7 separate regions of the Homo sapiens genome follow, and all the other regions are linked to region 1. The links are contacts of gene promoters, found by promoter capture Hi-C in human tissues and cell types (Jung and others, 2019). All regions are on one chromosome and are shown on one strand. The core of a region is centred on a gene start or on the middle of the fragment in contact, and the rest is flanking DNA. Distances in the headings are between cores, read along the strand shown.

The links. The method cuts DNA at HindIII sites, captures the fragments that hold promoters and counts their contacts. A contact is called where the count stands out against the background at its distance.
Region 2: a contact is called between the fragment with the promoter of ZNF554 here and the fragment with the promoter of LINGO3 in region 1, in 4 of the 25 tissues and cell types used here (heart left ventricle, lymphoblastoid cells, mesendoderm cells and 1 more).
Region 3: a contact is called between the fragment with the promoter of ATP8B3 here and the fragment with the promoter of LINGO3 in region 1, in 4 of the 25 tissues and cell types used here (heart right ventricle, pancreas, spleen and 1 more).
Region 4: a contact is called between a fragment that was not itself captured here and the fragment with the promoter of LINGO3 in region 1, in 9 of the 25 tissues and cell types used here (bladder, dorsolateral prefrontal cortex, heart left ventricle and 6 more).
Region 5: a contact is called between the fragment with the promoter of SLC39A3 here and the fragment with the promoter of LINGO3 in region 1, in 7 of the 25 tissues and cell types used here (IMR-90 fibroblasts, adrenal gland, aorta and 4 more).
Region 6: the fragment with the promoter of ABHD17A here is called in contact with the fragment with the promoter of LINGO3 in region 1 in 4 of the 25 tissues and cell types used here (aorta, dorsolateral prefrontal cortex, heart left ventricle and 1 more).
Region 7: a contact is called between the fragment with the promoter of DIRAS1 here and the fragment with the promoter of LINGO3 in region 1, in 3 of the 25 tissues and cell types used here (mesenchymal stem cells, spleen and stomach).

Annotation. Positions count from the first base shown.
Region 1 is chr19:2,306,873-2,309,416 of GRCh38, reverse strand. LINGO3 (leucine rich repeat and Ig domain containing 3) reads left to right here and starts at 1,263. Exons shown (of 2, transcript NM_001101391.3): 1 at 1,263-1,341. The HindIII fragment of the contact is 18,961 bases long and covers 1-2,544 here.
Region 2 is chr19:2,818,598-2,821,141 of GRCh38, reverse strand. It overlaps ZNF554 (zinc finger protein 554), which reads right to left and starts at 1,274. Exons shown (of 5, transcript NM_001102651.2): 1 at 1,018-1,274. The coding sequence starts at 1,070. RefSeq lists an enhancer at 170-863 and a silencer at 796-1,235. The HindIII fragment of the contact is 22,652 bases long and covers 1-2,544 here.
Region 3 is chr19:1,811,013-1,813,556 of GRCh38, reverse strand. It overlaps ATP8B3 (ATPase phospholipid transporting 8B3), which reads left to right and starts at 1,281. Exons shown (of 29, transcript NM_138813.4): 1 at 1,281-1,371; 2 at 1,673-2,068. The coding sequence starts at 1,821. RefSeq lists enhancers at 488-647, 1,028-1,773 and a silencer at 1,198-1,567. The HindIII fragment of the contact is 30,703 bases long and covers 1-2,544 here.
Region 4 is chr19:2,756,150-2,758,693 of GRCh38, reverse strand. It overlaps SGTA (small glutamine rich tetratricopeptide repeat co-chaperone alpha), which reads left to right. Exons shown (of 12, transcript NM_003021.4): 10 at 912-1,001; 11 at 1,237-1,357. The coding sequence ends at 1,351. Among named protein-coding and RNA genes, the nearest start is that of SLC39A3, 17 kb to the right of the region's middle. The HindIII fragment of the contact is 7,304 bases long and covers 1-2,544 here.
Region 5 is chr19:2,738,737-2,741,280 of GRCh38, reverse strand. SLC39A3 (solute carrier family 39 member 3) reads left to right here and starts at 1,264. Exons shown (of 3, transcript NM_144564.5): 1 at 1,264-1,336. RefSeq lists enhancers at 983-1,032, 1,733-1,782 and silencers at 1,093-1,492, 1,901-2,168. The HindIII fragment of the contact is 11,347 bases long and covers 1-2,544 here.
Region 6 is chr19:1,884,228-1,886,771 of GRCh38, reverse strand. It overlaps ABHD17A (abhydrolase domain containing 17A, depalmitoylase), which reads left to right and starts at 1,276. Exons shown (of 5, transcript NM_001130111.2): 1 at 1,276-1,420. RefSeq lists a silencer at 1,864-2,011. The HindIII fragment of the contact is 23,112 bases long and covers 1-2,544 here.
Region 7 is chr19:2,720,102-2,722,645 of GRCh38, reverse strand. DIRAS1 (DIRAS family GTPase 1) reads left to right here and starts at 1,274. Exons shown (of 2, transcript NM_145173.4): 1 at 1,274-1,342. The HindIII fragment of the contact is 24,571 bases long and covers 1-2,544 here.

The DNA of each region.
Region 1 (2,544 bases), core at 14-2,513:
TGAGCCAAGATTGCACCACTGCACTCCAGAATGGGTGACGAGAGCAAAACTCCATTTCAAAAAAAAAAAAAAAAAAAAAAGACAAAAAAAAAGGTAAAAAACTTTCCATGAGCACTCGCAGTGCACTTGGTGTGTGCGCTGCTGTGTGCTAGGCGGAAGGCACATTGGGGAACAAGCCCATTAGACAAACTGAGAGGCTCCAAGCTGCTCGATGGAGGGACAGAGAGAAAGGCTGTCCAAGCTGGGCACAGCGAAGATCAAAGGCCTGGGACTGGAGGGACTTGGCCTGTTTGAGGAAGGCTGAGGGGGTGGAGCCCGGGAAAGAGTGAGTGAGGACAGGCCAGGGGGAAGGAGGTGGTGCGGCAGACCAAACAGTGCAGGCAGCCGGGCGGTGGCTCACACCTGTCATCCCAGCACTTTGGGAGGCCGAGGTGGGTGGATCACCCGAGGTCAGGGGTTTGAGACCAGCCTGGCCAACATGCTGAAAATCCGTCTCTAATAAAAATACAAAAATTAGCCGGGCGTGGTGGCGGGTGCCTGTAATCCCAGCTACTTGGGAGGCTGAGGCAGGAGAATCGCTTGAACCCAGGAGGCGGAGGTTGCAGTGAGCCAAGATGGCACCGCTGTACTCCAGCCTGGGCAACAGAGCAAGACTCCATCTCAAAAAAAAAAAGAAAGAAAGAAAGAAAGAAAGAACGAAAGAAAGAGAAATTCCAGGGTAGGTGGGGTGCAGACGGGACCCTCACGGCAATAGGGAATCACGGCAGGTTCTGGAGCCCAGTGGCTAAGCTTCCTCTGAGGGGCTTCCTCTGAGGGCCACATAAGGAATGGGCCTGGGCTGGGCTGTGGCAGATGTCCAGGTGCAGATGGTGGCGGCCTGGACTAGGGGTGGGGGACGGGGGGCAGAGGAGGCGATGGTAGCTTCCAGAAGGTTCCACACGGAACAACCTGCTGCACTTGGGGTGCCCCTGCGTTTATTGCACGGCACGGCCGTCTCCGCAGGCTCACCCAGGCCGTGGGGACAGGAGGTCCTCGGACACGAAGCGCCCGGGATGCGCACGGAGGGGTTCTGCACCCGCGCTCCCAGTGTCCCCGCACCTGCGCCCACGTGGCCTCTCACACCTGCGGCCCCAGCCGCCGCGCACGCGGCCCAGCGCAGCCCCCGCGCGCCCCCGCCAGGCGCGCCGAGGAGACCGGCGGGCGGTTGCGCGCGGCGGCGGCGCGCACGGCGGAGCCCGGGAGGCGGCGGCGGCGGCGGCGGCGGCGGCGGCGGCTGCTCGTGTCGGCTCCGGGCGGCCCCCGCGCCGCAGCCCGCGCCGTGTCCGCGGCGGAGCCGCCCAGGTGAGTGGCCGTGCCGGGGCCCGGCGTGGGGCGCGCCCGCAGACCTGGGGACCCCTCACCTGCACCCTGCGACCCTGCCGCCCAAAGCCCCCAACCCGCGACCCCATCCTCAGCCGGGGGAAATTGCCCCGCGCACCCCTCCCGGGCTCATCGCTCCTTGCCAGGCCCCCGACGCTCCCCCTGGAAACTTTGGGGGCGAACTCCCCACCCTGGGGCCCCCCGCCCCTCCTCTGGGGCGCCAAGGAGCGGGGAATCGGGTGGGCATCTCCCCGGGGCACTGGGGACGCTGGGAGGATGCGCTCCTCTCCAGGAGGAGATGAAGGGGGCACTGGTTGGGTCTGGGGTGTGGGGAACGTCCGAATAGAGCCTGCAGCCCGCGCCTTCCTGCCCTGTCTCCCCCGAGCCGGGTCTGGTCCAGCCTGGGGGTGCGGAGCTGGAAGACGCAAAGGGTATCTGGGGTCCACACCGGAGCCTGCTCCATCGCTGGAGCTGACGGCCCGGCCTGGCGGGGAGGGACCTGGGGGCATAGGGCTGAGTCCCCCTGCTCTGGGGGCGTCTGAATAGCACCAGAAATGGTGGGCCTGGGCACCCTGAGTGGGTGCCGCCACCTCCCGGGCCTCTGGGGCCTGGCCAGGGGAGGCCCTGAGTCCCATTCAACAAGTTTAGGGGAGCAGCACCTCGTGCCTTGGTCCGGGCACAAGAAAAGCCCCGGGTCCTTACGCTGGAGACCACCATGTAACTGGGTTTCTCAACGTGTGCTTGGGGCGCTAACGGTGCCGGTGTCCCGGCCCCCCCAGTTCTGAGGAGTCAGAACTTCTGAGGCGATGTGCCCCAGAAGCTGCATTTTAGCAAGCGGTCCCTGGCTAAACCATGGACGCAGCGAGGCTGCAGACACCCTTGCTCCGGCGGGGGTGGGGAGCGGGCGTCTGCTGTGCAGTGGTATTTGCAGAGGGACGATCTGGGGCTTGGCTGGGGGGAGCCTTCAGGGACAACAGAGCTGTGAGAACCAGAGCAACCCAGGAGGGCTCCCTGGAAGTGGCCTGGAGAGGATGCAGAAGGTGTGAGGTGTGAGTGGTCAGGTGGAGGACGCAGGCTGGAAACAGGTTCAGGGAGGGTGGTGCTGGCTTTATCAGGAGGCTGGTGTGGGGTGGGCTGCCGCGGCATGGCCTTACCCTGGCTGTTCTCTGAGCCGAAGCAGCAGCC
Region 2 (2,544 bases), core at 25-2,524, 510 kb before region 1:
CTCCAGCCTGGGCAATAGGGCGAGACTGTCTCAAGAAAAAAAAAAGAAGAAGAAAAAGAAACCAACCTGTTTGGGTAGGGGAGAGTTCAGGGAGGTTGGGGTTGCTAGAGCAGCAGAAAGGTCAGCTGCCTCCCTCATTCCTCAACATGGGTGGTGGGTATAAACAGAATAGACCCTTGCAGCTGCGCGGTGGCTCACGCCTGTAATCCCAGCACTTTGGGAGGCTGAGGCGGGTGGATCACCTGAGGTGGGAGTTCGAGACCAGCCTGGCCAACATGGTGAAACCCCGTCTCTACTAAAAATGCAAAAATTAGCCGGGCGTGGTGGCATACGCCTGTAATCCCAGCTACTTGGGAGGCTGAGGCAGGACAATGGCTTGAACCCGGGAGGCGGAGGTTGCAGTGAGCCGAGATCATGCCATTGCACTCCAGACTCCGTCTCAAAAAAAAAAAAAAAAGGACCCTTGCTGTCTTATCACCAGGACAGCGGTGCTAACGTATAAGTGAGGTCTCTCCCTCAGGGCGCTGTGGACACTGGAGCCTGGGTCATTCTCTGGGCTGGGCAGGGTGCTGAGTTGCATCCCTGGCCTCCACCTACTCCATGCCAGGAACTGCCCCCAGTTATGACAACCACAGACGTCCCCAGACATCGCCCGGTGTCCCCTGGAGGGCAGGACCGCCCCTCGCTCAGACCCTCTGATGTGGCCTCACTGCAGTGCGAGCGTGGCAGCCCCTCTCTGCCTTTAGGGTAGAGTCAATGCGTCTTCTCCCTCTCCTTGCAGGCTGGGCCTCGGAAAGCTTATGCGTCTCTCACCCAGGGGCGTTTTCACAGGGCAAGGGCAGACCGTGCCATCCTGGGCGTTGGGGCCCTGGGCGAGCTGCCGGCTCCCGACCCTCCCGTGGGGACCCTATCGCGACAGGGTCATGCCCCGGCCACCCGGCCCCGCCAGACCCAGCCCCACCAGAGCCCCGGCAGGCCCGGCACGGAGGTCGCGGCGCGGGAGGCGGCGGCACTTACGGCTGAGCTGCCGGGAGCCGCGCGCGCCGGCCCAGGTGGGCGCAGGTGACCATCGGGGCGCGCGCTGAGGCGCCAGACAGGGCCCCCGAGGCGGGAGCGCCCCGTGCAGGCCGGCCGGCCTCCCCTGCGTGTCCCTGGGACGCCTCCTCCGCTCGGCTCCTCGGCGCTCGGAGCGGACGCCCCCCGCAGGCGCCCCTCAGGAACTCGCCGCAGCCGCCGCCACCAACCCCGACGCGCGCAGAGGTAAACTCGGCACTGCGCCTGCGCACCCCGAACCTGCGAACTACAAGTCCCAGCAGGCCCCGCAGCGCGGCGCTGGGCTCCTGACTCTCCAACCTGGGTCACAGCGCCGCCTCCGGGCGGGCGGCGTCTCCGCAGGACCACGATGCCCCTGCGGCTGTTGGATCCACCCCGTGTGGTTCGCTGGAGTCCCCGGGTGTTGTGGGGTTCGCGGAGCCAATCCTCAAATCCCAGCTCCGTCGTTTCCCGGCGGCTTGCCATTGGATATTAATAACTACTATTATTTATTAAGCAAGTTATATAAACGTATAATGTATTACATACTTATTAAAATGATTGCTTAAGTAATTGTTGTTTGTTTTTGAGACTGAGTTTCGCTCTTGTCGCCCAGGCTGGAGTGCAATGGCATGATCTCAGGTCACTGAAACCTCCGCCCCCTCGGGTTCAAGCGATTATCCTGCCTCAGTCTCCCAAGTAGCTGGGATTACGGGCGTGCACAACCACACTCGGCTAATTTTTTATATTTTTGGTAGCGACGCGGTTTCACCATGTTGGCCAGGCTGGTCTCGAACTCCTGACTTCCAGTGATCTGCCCGCCTTGGCCTCCCAAAGTGCTGGGATTACAGGCGTGAGCCACCACGCCCAGCCAAATTAAATTATTGTTTAAATATTTATTTAATATTCTACTGATTGTTATTTATGAGAAATTAAAATAGTAAAACTACTATAATTAATATACTGTTGTAGGATACAACAAATTCCTCTTCAAAGGTTTTAGCCTGTAAATTGTTAAGTACAATCAGTTATGAGCTCCTCTCCAAAGAACCAATGTTTCCGTATATTCAGCTCCCCTGTTCTTTTTTTTTTTTTTTTTGAGATGGAGTCTCGCTCTGTCGCCCAGGCTGGAGTGCAGCGGCGCGATCTCGGCTCACTGCAAGCTCCGCCTCCCAGGTTCACGCCATTCTCCTGCCTCAGCCTCCCAAGCAGCTGGGACCACAGGCGCCCGCCACCACGCCCGGCTAATTTTTTTGTATTTTTAGTAGAGACGGAGTTTCACCGTGTTAGCCAGGATGGTCTCGATCTCCTGACCTCGTGATCCGCCTGCCTCAGCCTCCCAAAGTGCTGGGATTACAGGCGTGAGCCACCGCGCCCGGCCACCTATTCTTTGTTCTTCATTTTAAACTTTAACTTCCTCGTTCTTTTCGTTTCCTTGCCCCTAGTTTCAGTAAACAACCCCTCCTAGCCCCTATCACCTGCTCTGACCTTAGTCACCCTTGGTCACCTGCT
Region 3 (2,544 bases), core at 32-2,531, 500 kb after region 1:
CTGGCAGCCTCCAGGGCCAAGCAGGCTTCCAATTTGGGCTTCCAAAGAAAGAGGGTTTGTGATCACCGAGAGCCCTCAGGTGGTTGCCGCTTTGATGGGGGAGGTGGCTTCCCTATCCCCCTCCACCCATGTTTGCCTCTCCCTTTGGGCCCTCACCCCAGGTAGCCTCACTCTTGGGGGCATTTCATCTTCAGCAGCCCCTCCGCACACACTTTCTGACCCTGGCTCCAGGCCCTATCGCTGGCCTGGACCCGCCCTAGCCTCGTCGCTGAACTCACCCCTGCCACTTCTTCAGTAAGGATCCCTGAGCCCCTGCCACCTGCTGGAAAGAACCCTGCGGGCTTCCTCTTGGCCTTAGGGTGGTCTCAATGGCTATAACCGCCTCTCCCCAGCCTGGTGCTCAGCCCTGCATCTGCGCCTAGGAGGCGCTCGTTGAACGTGTATGGGATGAATGAACGAACCCAGGACACGGATCAGACATGACTTACATAACCGCCGTTACCTGTGGTCCTTCCTCCTGCACTCTGCCACGCTGGCCGCACCAGCCTCAGCCCCGTCAGGTCTGCAAGGCCCATTCCGACCTGACCCAGGCCCACCTTTCCAAGAACCCTTCCAACCCCGCCCTGCGGTGCAGGTTCTTTCTGCTCCCTGACCAAGCCCGGCCCGGCCCTGCCCTGACACCCTCTTCCCTTTCAGGCTCCGCCCCTGCACTGGCACTGCTCCCTAAGGCCCTCCCAAGGCCCTGCCTTCTGTCCTGGACCCACCCTGAGCGCCCTCCTACCCTGACCCTGCTCTGCGCGGCCCCGCCTTCCTCCTTTGTAACGGCTCCGGATCCCAGCCCCGCCCCTACCATAACACTGCTCCGCAAGGCCATGCTCAACCCCGCTTCCCGCTCTGGCCAAGCCCCTGAGTCCTGGCCCCGCCCCTACTCTGACTTTGCTCAGCGAGACCCCGCTCGTCCTCGCCTTCCTTCTAGTCCCTTCCCCAAAGTCCCGGCCCCTCCCCAGACCCAGGCACTGCTCCCGAGCGTCTTCTATCCCGGCCTGTTCTGCGAGGCTCTGCGAGGCCCCGCCCTTCGGCCGTGACCGCGTCCCTGAGGCCTGGCCCCCATCCTGCTCGGCCGTGCTCCGCTCGGCCCCACCCTCGAGGCCCCGCCCCTTCTTCGCCTTGGCCCCACCCACCCCCTCCAGGCCCCGCCCCCGGCCCCCTTCCGGGGTCCGAACTGGCTCCACCTTCGCCTTGGCCGGGCCCCGAGGCCCCGCCCCGAGATCCCGCCCCCCGTTTCAGGACCGTTGGCACCGGGCTAACGGTTCCACCACGTCCGCCGCCCTGGACGCCCGCGGCCTGCCCCCCCCTGCCTCTCCTGCGCCGGTGAGCGGCGGGTGCTCCCACTGCTGTGCGTCCCCGGGAGCCCGCGCACCCTCTCTGGGCTCCACCCAGGCTGAGAGCTGGGGTCGTGGCGGCGGGGGTGGAGAGCGCGCCCCTAGAGGTTCGCGCGGTCGGGGCCCCGGGGCGGGTGCAGACAGCCCTGGACTCTGGAGCCCTGTCCAGGGCGGTCCTGTGCCCCTGCGGCTGCGGGAAGACGGGGTGGGGGGCTTCCGAGTAATGGGGCATCCCAGTTAGTGAGGGGGCAGGAAGCCAGCGCTGTGTCCGTGTCTCTTTCTGCCCCCAGATACACTTCGAGTGGATTCTGGCCATTTGAGCATTCTCTCCAACTCTCCAATCCCCAGTCTGCCCCCACGGGGGTCTCCCCCACCTCTCCCCCGTCCCACAGCCTAAACCCCTCTTCGCCCTGAACCTCCCTTTTCCTCATGCGGTGAATGGGCACTGGCCCCGCTCAGACTCCCAGGAGCACCAGAGCTGGCCCTGAGCCAAGCCCTGCCCCACCAGGACCTGGGGACACGGGTGACTCAGACGTGACTCAGGAAGGCTCAGGTCCTGCTGGCATCCGCGGAGGTGAGACGGTGATCAGAGCTGGGATGGGAGACTCCCCAGGCAGAGGGGCACCTGAGAGGAGGCACAAGGCCCAGCCTGGCCGGGCTAGGAAGTATGAATGGAGACCAGAAGGGTGAGGACGGGTGCATCGGGTGGCCGGAACACAGGGGCAGGGGCTTGGCGGGGAGGGCACTGCTAGAGAGCTGGCAGGTGGGGGGCCAGTTGCTGGCGTCTAGGGGTGGTTTGCCCATCCTCATAGGGGGCCAAACCAGGGCCCCCGGTGCAGGGCTAGAGCCAGACCCACATTCCTGAACCTGCTAGTGGAGAAGATTCCAGGATCTTCTGACGATGTCCGTCTGCCTCCATCGCCCCCATCAGAGTTTGCTGCCCAGCCTGGGGGGGTGAGGAGGGGAGTGGCCATGCCTGACCCTCATGCTGTGTTTTGAGATATAACATATAGCCCGGGGGTCCCATTCAGTCAGTGAACAGATGACTGAGCCCCTAAGCTGGTGCCACATGGGGAGAGGGGCAGGAGGCCGTCAGTGAAACCAGGAGGAGGTGAGAGTGGTCCTTTCAGGAAAAGCGAGGTGTGGGGAGCAGTGGCCGGAG
Region 4 (2,544 bases), core at 19-2,518, 450 kb before region 1:
TTGAGCACGGGTGTGCAATCGTCTGTGTGAATCCTGTTTTCGTTTCTCTTGGATATAAACTTCTGAGTGCACTCGCTGGCTCATAGGGTCACTCCCCAGTAAGCGCTGTGCGCACTGGGGAGCTGCTCACCTGTTTTCATGGTGAAATCTTTTTTTCTTTCTCCTTTTTTTTTTTTTGAGACAGAATCTTGCTCTGTCACCCAGGCTGGAGTGCAGTGGCAGAATCTTGGCTCACTGCAACCTCTGCCTCCCGGGATCAAGTGGGTCTTCCCAAGTAGCTGGAATTACAGGCATCCACCACCATGCCCGGCTGATTTTTGCATTTTTAGTAGAGATGGGGTTTCACCATGTTGGCCAGGCTGGTCTTGAACTCCTGACCTCAGGTGATCCACCCGCCTCAGCCTCCCAAAGTGCAGGGATGACAGGTGTGAGCCACCGCGGCTGGCCCACGGTCAAATCTTAAAGCATGGTTTCCCAGCCACAGCACCGTGGCCATTTGAGCTGGACCAGTTTCTGGAGCAGGGCCGTCCTGGGCACTGCAGGGTGCTGAGCACTGTCTCTAGCCTCCATCCACTCCATGCCAGGAGCACCCCCTGCCCCTGTCTTGGCGTAACCCAATCATGGCTGTTGCAAATGTCCGCTGCCATTGCAGGGGTCCTCTGGGGGCAGGATCACCCCCTGGCTGAGAACTACGCTCTTTAGGCCAAAGAAAGAGGGGTGTTCTGGGAAAGCAGGTGAAAGTCACAGGGTGGGTTTGGGCCCTGGAGGCCCACCAGGTGGTGAGAGAGAATCCTCTCCTGCAGGGGAAGGTGAAGGGCTGAGAGGGATTCTCTCCCGGGCCACTGCGAGGGCCTGCAGTGGGGGTGGCGGTCAGGCTGTCCCGGCTGCGAGTCACGCGCTCTCTCCTGCAGCATGTCCGGCATGATTTCGGGTGGCAACAACCCCTTGGGAACTCCCGGCACCAGCCCCTCGCAGAACGACCTGGCCAGCCTCATCCAGGCGTGAGTGGAACTGCTTCCAAGAGGACGGAGGACGTGGGCGGCGGGCAGGGCTCGCAGGCGGAAGGGAAGGAGGAGAGCGAAAGTGCTGCGTCCCCTGCTCCGAAGGGCCCAGCGTCCTCCAGCGAGGGGTCAGGCCTGTCTTTGGGGTGGAGGGCCCGAGGGGTCAGCTGGGGATGGACGGAGGCAGCAGGCAGCCTCCTGGCCCTGGCTGAGCCCCATGTGCCCTTCCCCGCAGGGGCCAGCAGTTTGCCCAGCAGATGCAGCAGCAGAACCCAGAGTTGATAGAGCAGCTCAGGAGCCAGATCCGGAGTCGGACGCCCAGCGCCAGCAACGACGACCAGCAGGAGTGACGCTGCGTGAGTGCATGGGGCCGGGGGCTGGGGGGTGGCCAGCAGGAGTGACACCACGTGAGTGCCTGGCAGTGAGGGCAGCCAGCAGGAGTGACGCCCGGGGGCTGTGGAGCCTGTCTGGACACTGGACAGCGAGTCCTGGGTGCATCCAGCTCAGAAGATCACCCTGAACCGCCCAGGCAGGTGGGGGCATCTCTGGGCATTGGGCCCCTTTCCAGGTGGCCACCAAGTCCTGCTCCCCACTCCTTTCCCATCTGTGGATCGGCGCTGGGTGGAGATTAGGGGAGAGCCACAGCTCCCTGGAAGGGCTGGTGTCTGGGGTCCCCCCTGCCTAAGGCCGCCTGCAGAAGCTCTTTGTTTCTGCAGTGTCGGGGCTGCCACCTCGGGGGTGGGGGCGAGGTCATCGAGTGGTGGAAAGGACAAGCCGGGTACCTGCCTTTGACTGCGCCCGAGCGTTCTGCCTGCATTTTGTGAGGGATTTTTTGTCCTTTTCTCACTGTGAGCAGGTGTTGCACTTACAGTTGTTTAAAAATACACTCAGTGTCCCCCATGGGTTCCAGGGGCCCGTGGCTGGCTTGGTTTCCTTCCCCAGGGGCCCCTGAGTTCAGTCCTGTCCGTCTCCAGCAGACACCGGCTTCCCAGGGGTGGGAGGCTCCCCTGAGTTCAGTCCTGTCTGTCTCCAGCAGACGCCGGCTCCCTGGGGGCGGGAGGCTCCGGGCCTCCCCAGAGGTGTTTCCATTCTGCTCCCATGTGGCCTCTTCATTTTGTCGTTGTCCCCTCCTCATATACACTCTCTTTCATTTTTAAACCATAATTACTGTAGACAAATTTAAAATACAAAAATGTTAAAAAGCAGCAAGAACAATCTTAATCTTTTTTTTTTTTTTTTGAGACCGTCCTGCTCTGTCCCCCCGGCTGGAGGGCAGTGGTGCAGTCACGTCTCACTGCAGCCTCAACCTCCTGGGCTCAAGCGATCCTCCCGCCTCGGCCTCCCAAAGTGTGAGCCGTGCATTCAGCCCAACCTTAATCTTCTCACCCAGAGCCACCAACATTAATATTTTGGCCGCCTTTTCTTCCAGTCTTCCCTTTTTTTTTTAAATAAGCTTTTATTTATTTTTCCTTTTCTTTTTTTAATAGTTGAGGTGGATTTTTTACCACCGTAACCTCATACACAAAGTACCACCATACTGTAG
Region 5 (2,544 bases), core at 15-2,514, 430 kb before region 1:
CTGTTGGTAGCATTTGGTTCCTTATGGACGCTTGTGCTGAGGGTCTCATTGCCTTGCTGACTGTTGGCTGGAGGACACCCTCAGTTCCTTTCCCTCTGGATCTCTCCAGCATCTTAGCTTGCTTTGTCAAGACACGTAGGCTGAGAAGGCGAGAGACAGGCTCTGCTGGCAAAACAGAAGTCACAATCTCTCATAGCCTAATCGCAGAATGACATCCCATTCATTTGCCATTTTCTATTTGTTAGAATCAAGTCATCAGGCCAAGCGCAGTGGCTCATGCCTGTAATCCCAGCACTTTGGGAGGCCAAGGTAAGAGGATCACCTGAGGTCAGGAGTTCAAGACCAGCCTGGCCAACATGGTGAAACCCCGTCTCTACTAAAAACACAAAAATTAGCCGGCATAGTGGCACACGCCTATAATCCCAGCTACTCGGGAGGCTGAGGCAGGAGAATCGCTTGAACACGGGAGTCGGAAGTTGCAGTGAGCCAAGATCGCGCCATTGCACTCCAGCCTGAGTGACAAGAGCGAGACTCTGTCTCAAAAAAAACCTTTTTTTTTTTTTTAGAGATGGGGTCTCACTATGCTGCCCAGGCTGGCCTTGAACTCCTGGACTCAAGCGATCCTCCCGCCTCGGTCTCTTAAAGTGCTGAGATTACAAGTGTGAGCCACTGCGCCCTGCCAAGATTTGGTTTTTAACTTACGCGTTACCTCCTATACTTATTTTTTCATGGTTTGAACATGTAACATCTACTTTCTTAGCAATTTTGCAGTATGCAATGCATTGTTACGAGCTGTAGCCACCATGATGTACAGTCGATCTCTTGGACTTACTCCTCCTGCCTATCAACAGAGATTTGTTGAAGGGATGAATCTGCTTCTTCAGCCGTCGGTAAGGGGATCAGCAGCGAGGACGCTGAGAGAGGAGCCGCCTCCGTTGGAAATCCCTTCCCATCCACCTCCAAGCCTCTTTCCAAGCGGGATTCAGCACCAGGCGCCCCTGGACAGCTCTGGAAACCCAACCCTGCCGGAACCGTTCCTCGCCAATCCGGGTTTCCCGCCGGGGCCGCTTGGTGGCTGCGCCCGCCGCTCAGCGGGAGGAAACCCCTTTCCTGTGCCGGTAGGAGAGGTGGAGTCGCATATGAGTGGCAGGTTTCGCAGCCAATAGTATGGAAAGTTCTGCCAGCGGGTCTCGGGGAGGCCAATGGGCAGGGGCGTGGGCGGGGCGTGGACCAGCCGCGCCGAGCGGGGCCTCTCCGGGCCGCGTCTGTGGGGTCGAGACTGCGCGGCCGTTGGGCGTGCAGCGGCGCCAGTCGGCGGACGAGGGGCCCCCGGGAGGTAGGTGCGGGCAGAGAGAGGACCTGGGGCGGCGGGGCGGGGCGGCGCTGAGCGGCCGGGGGTCTGTTGGACTCTACCCGCACGTTAGCCGAGGCCCGTCTCCGGTGCCCGGTAGCGCGAGGCACACAGAAGGCGCTCAATAAGTGCTGATTGAATGAATGAGCCCGTGCCCTCCTCATCCCGGCCCGAGCAGCCTCCGGTTTGAGAGCGTGCAGGCCACCCTCACCTTCACTGTACAGACTGAGGTATCCAGATGCCGGACAGGTCTTTATTGGGCGCCTACTGTGTGCCTGGGTGGCTCTGCGCTGGGTGCAGCTGGCCCTGAGCAAGACAGACAGCCTGGTCCCGCCCAGCTCACCGCCGGGGGGGAGGGACGACTTTAAATGACTTAAAATAATGTAATTCCTAGCTCCCTCTGTAGCACAAAATAAAAGAAAATAACACCAGGGAAGGGGGCGGGGAGAGCTCTGAGTGGAGACATCTGAGCAGTGACCCGAAGACCTGAATGCAGTGAGGTAGCGGGGCCATGAGGCGCTTGGGGCTGATGGTGGGGGAGAAAACCCAGTTGGGGAAAACTCAAGGACAGGGGAGGAGCTGAGATTCCTCCTAAGAACGGTGACATTTTGGGGTCCAGGGTGAAACCGACTTCACTTTGGCCCATTGCATCAGGTAAAATGCGGCCCTTATCAGTGGCCACACGCTTCCCCTCGTCCATGTGTTCAGCCAGCGGTTTTTGAGTATCTGTTCTGCAGCAGGCCTTCCGGCGGGTACAGGGATATGGTTTAGGGCAGGAGTCAGCCAGGGGCAGAGAGGGAGGCCCTTTTTTTTTTTTTTTTTTTTTTTTTGAGACGGAGTCTTGCTCTGCAGCCCAGGCTGGAGTACAATGGCGCGATCTCGGCTCACTGCAAGCTCCACCTCCTGGGTTGAAGCAATTCTCCTGCCTCAGCCTCCCGAGTAACTGGGATTACAGGCACGTACCACCATGCCCAGCTAATTTTTTTTTTTTTTGAGACAGAGTCTTACTCTGTCACCCAGGCTGGAGTGCAATGGCTTGATCTTGGCTCACTGCAACCTCCACCTCCTGGGTTCAAGTGATTCTCCTGCCTCAGCCTCCCAAGTAGCTGGGATTACAGGTGCCCACTACCACACCCAGCTAATTTTTGTATTTTTAGTAGAGACAGTGTTTCACTGTGTTGGCCAGGCTGGTC
Region 6 (2,544 bases), core at 27-2,526, 420 kb after region 1:
ACCGTGTTAGCCAGGATGGTCTTGATCTCCTAACCTCATGATCTGCCCGACTCGGCCTCCCAAAGTGCTGGGATTATAGGCGTGAGCCACCGCGCCCAGCCCATAATGAAATTTTTTTAAGAGACAGGATCTTGCTCTCTCGCCCAGGCTGGAATGCAGTGGAGTGATCATAGTTTTATTTATTTATTTATTTATTTATTTATTTATTTATTTATTTATCTGAGACAGTCTTCTTGCTCTGTCACTTGGGCTGGAGCACAGTGGCCCGATCTTGGCTCACTGCAACCTTCGCCTCCCGGGTTCAAGCGATTCTCCTGCCTCAGCCTCCGGAGTAGCTGGGACTACAGGCGCGTGCCACCATGCCCGGCTAATATTTGTATTTTTAGTAGAGACAGGGTTTCACCACGTTGGTCAGGCTTGGTCTCAAACTCCTGACTTCAGGTGATCTACCTGTTTCAGTCTCCCAAAGTGCTGGGATTACAGGCATGAGCCACCGTGCCCGGCCTAATGTAATATTTTAAAAACTAATGCAAAAGAATTTCTGATGAGCAATATATAAAGACTTTAAATAAGCTGGTCATGGTGGCTTGTGCCTATAGTCCTAGCTACTCAGGAGGCTGAAGTAGGAGGTTCACTTGATCCTGGGAGGTCGAGGCTGCAGTGAGCTATGATGGCACCAGCCTGGGTGACAGAGTAGACTCTATGTTAAAAAAAAGAGGCCAGGTGCGGTGGCTGATGCCTGTAATCCCAACACTTTGGGAGGCTGAGGCAGGAGGATTCTGGGGTCAGGAGTTCGAGGCCACACTGGCCAACATGGGGAAACCCCGTCTCTACTGAAAACACAAAAATTAGCTGGGCATGGTGGTGGGCGCCGGTAATCCCAGCTACTCAGGAGGCTGAGGCAGGAGAATCGCTTGATCCCAGGAGGCAGAAGTTGCAGTGAGCTGAGATCGCGCCATTGTACTCCAGCCTGGGCGACAGAGCGCGACTCCATCTCATAAAGAAAAATATTTTAAAACATTTCTAAATGTTGATGTCTGAGTTTTTTTTGGCGTCCCTGTAAATTTTGTTTTCCAGGCGAGAACTTTACTGGCCTCAACCTATTCCGGGTCCCCAAGTGAATGAAACCTAAGTTTGGCCCCGCCCACAGAGCAGCAGGCCACGCCCCTCGACATATCAGCCCCGCCCCCAGGACGCTAGTCGCGCGGTCGCTCTGTGCCTGCAGACCCCCGCCCCGCGCGCTCCTCGCGTCACTTCCGGGGCGGTGGTGAGAACGAGGCTCACTTCCGTCCGTGGGGGGAGCTGCGGCGGTGGCGGTGCAGGAGGCCGGGCAGGGGTGCGGAGGGACCGACGGACGCACGGGCGGGCGGCCGGGAGCCATGGAGCGCGGCCCTGGGGCCCGGGGGCGCGGGCCGGGGTGGTGAGTGCCGGGCAGGGGCGGGGGCGGGCGCGGCCGCGCGGGGTCCCGGGCCGGGCCTCGAGGGCCTGACAGCCCGGTTGGACGTCCCCGAGACCCCTGCAGTCCCAGGGCTTCCGCGGGTCCTGCCCGAGGAGCCCAGAGCAGGGGCGCGGACCGCGGATGAGCGTCTGTGATTGGGAAAGCCCTGTCCCCATCCATTCAGCCCTCCGGCGTGGGTTGCGCTCCCACCCTCCTGCGGACGCGGCCCTTGCCTTCGGGGAGCACCCGTCCGAGCCGCGGATTCCGCTCTTTTGCCCCGAAACTGCCCCCAGTCCGACAAACGCTTCGGCCTCTCGCCCCCCAAGGCAGCTCCCAGGGGCCCTCCCGAGCCCTGCTTCCCAACCAGCTCCCAGTCGCTGTTTCCCTTGTCAGGCTTCTTCCTGCCACCCTGACTCCTGGGCGGGCTTCCCGGCCTCCGCTCGCGTCCGTTCTCCGGGATGCAGCCCTTCTCCTATGTTGTCCATCGCTTGCTCGGGACTTCTTCGCGGCCCCGCCATTTCTCCCAGGATGAAGTGCAAACTCTCGGGGGCGCGACCTCACCCGTCCCAGGCTCTCTCTTAGGACCCTTCTGCTCACTTCTTCCTCCCAGGGTCTGCTCTAGCCAGGAGCCTGCTCTGTCACCTCGGATTTTGCTCCTGCTTGTCCCTCTGTCCCATCCCCCTGTCACCTGGCCCGTTTGTCTGCCCTCTGATATGGCCGCGCCTCCCCCCAGGCGGGTTTCCCACCCTGACTGGTTGAGTGAGGTGCAGTCACCGTCTCCCATATGTAGGTCATCTTCCAGTATTTTGGCTGCTCGGTTGCTTGCTGGTCCTCAGAACACCTCTAGCTTGCAGAGGGTTGCCCAGTTAAGTGCGTGGGAACGGAATTGGTGGGATTCAGGGTGTCAAGGGTGTGTGCCCAGTGAGTGAGGCGTCTGGGTTTGCACTCCCCAGTCCACGCCCATTAGTGACACTAGGGAGGTTCCAGGTACCTGTGGCTGGAGAGGAGAGGAGACTAGACTTTCCCTTCCCTGTCAAAGCTGGCGGACCTTGGGGATTCTTTTCCTCCTGTGCTTCCTCCTTAATTCTGTGCTGCCTACCACCTGC
Region 7 (2,544 bases), core at 25-2,524, 410 kb before region 1:
AAATCAGGGAGAAATAGAGCTCCTTGAGCCCCAAAGCCGCTTGAACCTCAGTGCCCCAGCCTCAGTGGCAACAGGAGAGGGGACTGAGTGGTCTTGGAGGCAGTGCCAAGTCTCCGCAGAGGCAGATGGGCCCACCTCATCCAGGGCCATGGAAATGGTGGGTCATGGAGAACCCCAGGAGCTGAGGGCCCAAGGGGTTCACCTGCTCACAGGCCTGGTGATGGGGAGCTCACCACCTTCCAGACCAGCCTCTCACCCACTGATGGCTCTGACTCTGGAGAGACCCCTGTGGGTCCCAGAGTTGGCCTCTCCACCAAGGGGCGCCTTCCTCTGACAGCCTTGCGGCCTGGGACTGTCCCGCACCCACCCCTGAGAGCACCTTCTGGCCTGGTCACTAGACCCCAAAGTCCAGTCTCCTCTGGGATCTGCCCGATGAGGCCAAAAGGAACCTCGGCCTCCCGGTCTCCAAAATGGAGGCGGAACCATGGTCTCTTGTGGACACACAGACGCATCAGAAAAGCCAGTGCTCCCCTAAGACACCTCCTGTTGGGGGAACACAAACATTTTCCTAACCGAAAACGGCAAACCCATCCGCTGCAGAGCAGCGCCAGCCCCCTTTGCTCACCCCCCACCTCCCTAGGCCTGACTGCCATGGGCTGCCTCCGCCTCCACAAAACCAGCCCTACAGAGCGCTGAGTCCGCTTCTGCCCCCATCCCGCCCCTGCCCAGGCCCCTGGGATGGGTGGGCCTCCAGGTGCACCCCATTGACCTGAACCCTCCCGCCTCTGCCCGCTTCTAAACCTGTTCATTGATTGTTGATTATCGACTTACTCATTTCACAACGCACCCCTCTGATTCCCCGCCCTGCGTGTGACCGGGCCCCAGCCGGCCTCAGGGGTCCCGTTCTGCACCCCCTTTATCCGCATTTCTGCCAAAGCCCTCCACCCCCGGCTGGACTCTGCTCCTCCCAAGCCGGGCTCCTGGCCCCCACTCGGGGTTCCCCGGGAAGCGGCCCCAGCTCCCACCCCGAGGGAGGGCGCGCGCAGGTGGCTACGTGGCAGGGCGGGGGTCCCGGATCCTGGCGACCTCTCCCACCCCGGGCGCGGGCAGGGGTCCCGCGTGGGGCGGCGGTGACCTTGGCCGGGCGGCGCGCCGGCCCCGTGGGCGCGGGTCCCCGGGGCGGGGCGGGGCGGGGCGGGGCGGGGCGGAGCGCGGGGCCCGGCGGGCGGGGACGGCGCGGGCGCGACTGCGGCGGCTCGGGCGGGCGGGGGGCGGCGGCGCCAGCGGACACCGGAGCGGGCAGGAGCAGCGGCCGCGGCGCCGCAGGGACCAGCGGGCCCAGGTAGGCGGCCCGGGGCGGGGAGGGGGTCCCTGCGCAGCCCCCAGCCGGCCGTCCTCCCCGCCGCGCGTCCCTCCTTTGTCCCGGCCCCAGCCTCCCGGGCCTTGGGGCCGGGCCCTTCCCCGCGTGGCTCCGGGGCCCCTCGCCGGGCGTCCCCCGTCCCTTCCCGCCGGGCCCGGCCGGCCCCTCCGCGCTCACCTTGGACAGCTCCCGGCCGCCTCCCCTCCCCCACCCGGAGGGCGCCCCCCTGCCGAGCCCGCCCCACCGAGGCCCACCCCGCCGCCCCTCTCCGCATTGGTCCCCTCGGGCAGGGCCTCCTCCCTCCTGCAGCCGCCTTCTTCGCCCTCCGCCCCGCTGCCCAGCCAAGCCCCTCCCTCCGCGCCCCCTCCCCGGGGTGGGCTCCTCCTCTCCACCACTGAGGTCCTCCTGAGTCAAGGGTCGCCCCTGGGCTGGCCCCGCACTGTGCCTCTGCGCCCTCGGGCCCCCTAGAGCAGGCCCTTTCTCCATCAAACCCCTCACCGGCCAGGCGGCCCTGGGTCAGACCCCCGCCCCACCCTTGGTCAGGCGTGACCCCCGCTAGACCCCTGGGTCGCGGCTCTCTCTGCTTTCCTGACCCTGAGCTTTGCTTTGACACCCCCGCCCCCACCAACCACGCCGTGCCCGGCCGGGAGCCGGGCTTCAGGGACCCAGGGCTGGGGTAGATTGGCCCTGCCTGGACGTCTGGGGGTGGGCTGCCCCGCACAGGCGGGAAACCCCAGGAGTCTAGCCAAGCAGGGTGGGCTTCCAGCCCCGCTGTGCGCCTCCACCCCCCTGCTCTGTGACCTTGAGCCAGCCCCTCCTGCTCCTGCCTCGGTGCCCACGACCCCCTCCCTCCACCCGCACCCCCCAGGCGGTGGAGGTGGGAAGTGGCGTGGGCTTCGGGGCTGTTGAGTGCAAGCGCCTTTCTGGTCAGGGATTCCAGACCCAGCGGGGAGGACAGTACTGCTCATGGGGGCTGGAGCTTCAGTGCCCGCAGCAAGGCAAAGGCTGGATCTGGGTCCACAGAACCCATGGCCATTAGGACCCCAGGCCGGTCTTGGTGGCGTCTTTCTGCACAGCAGCGTGCCCGCCTCTCAGGGCGCCCACCCAGGAAAGGGCAGGGTCTGCAGCACAGGCCGCCTCCCCCCCACCACCAGCACCCCCAGCCTCCTCCGAATGCCGAGAAA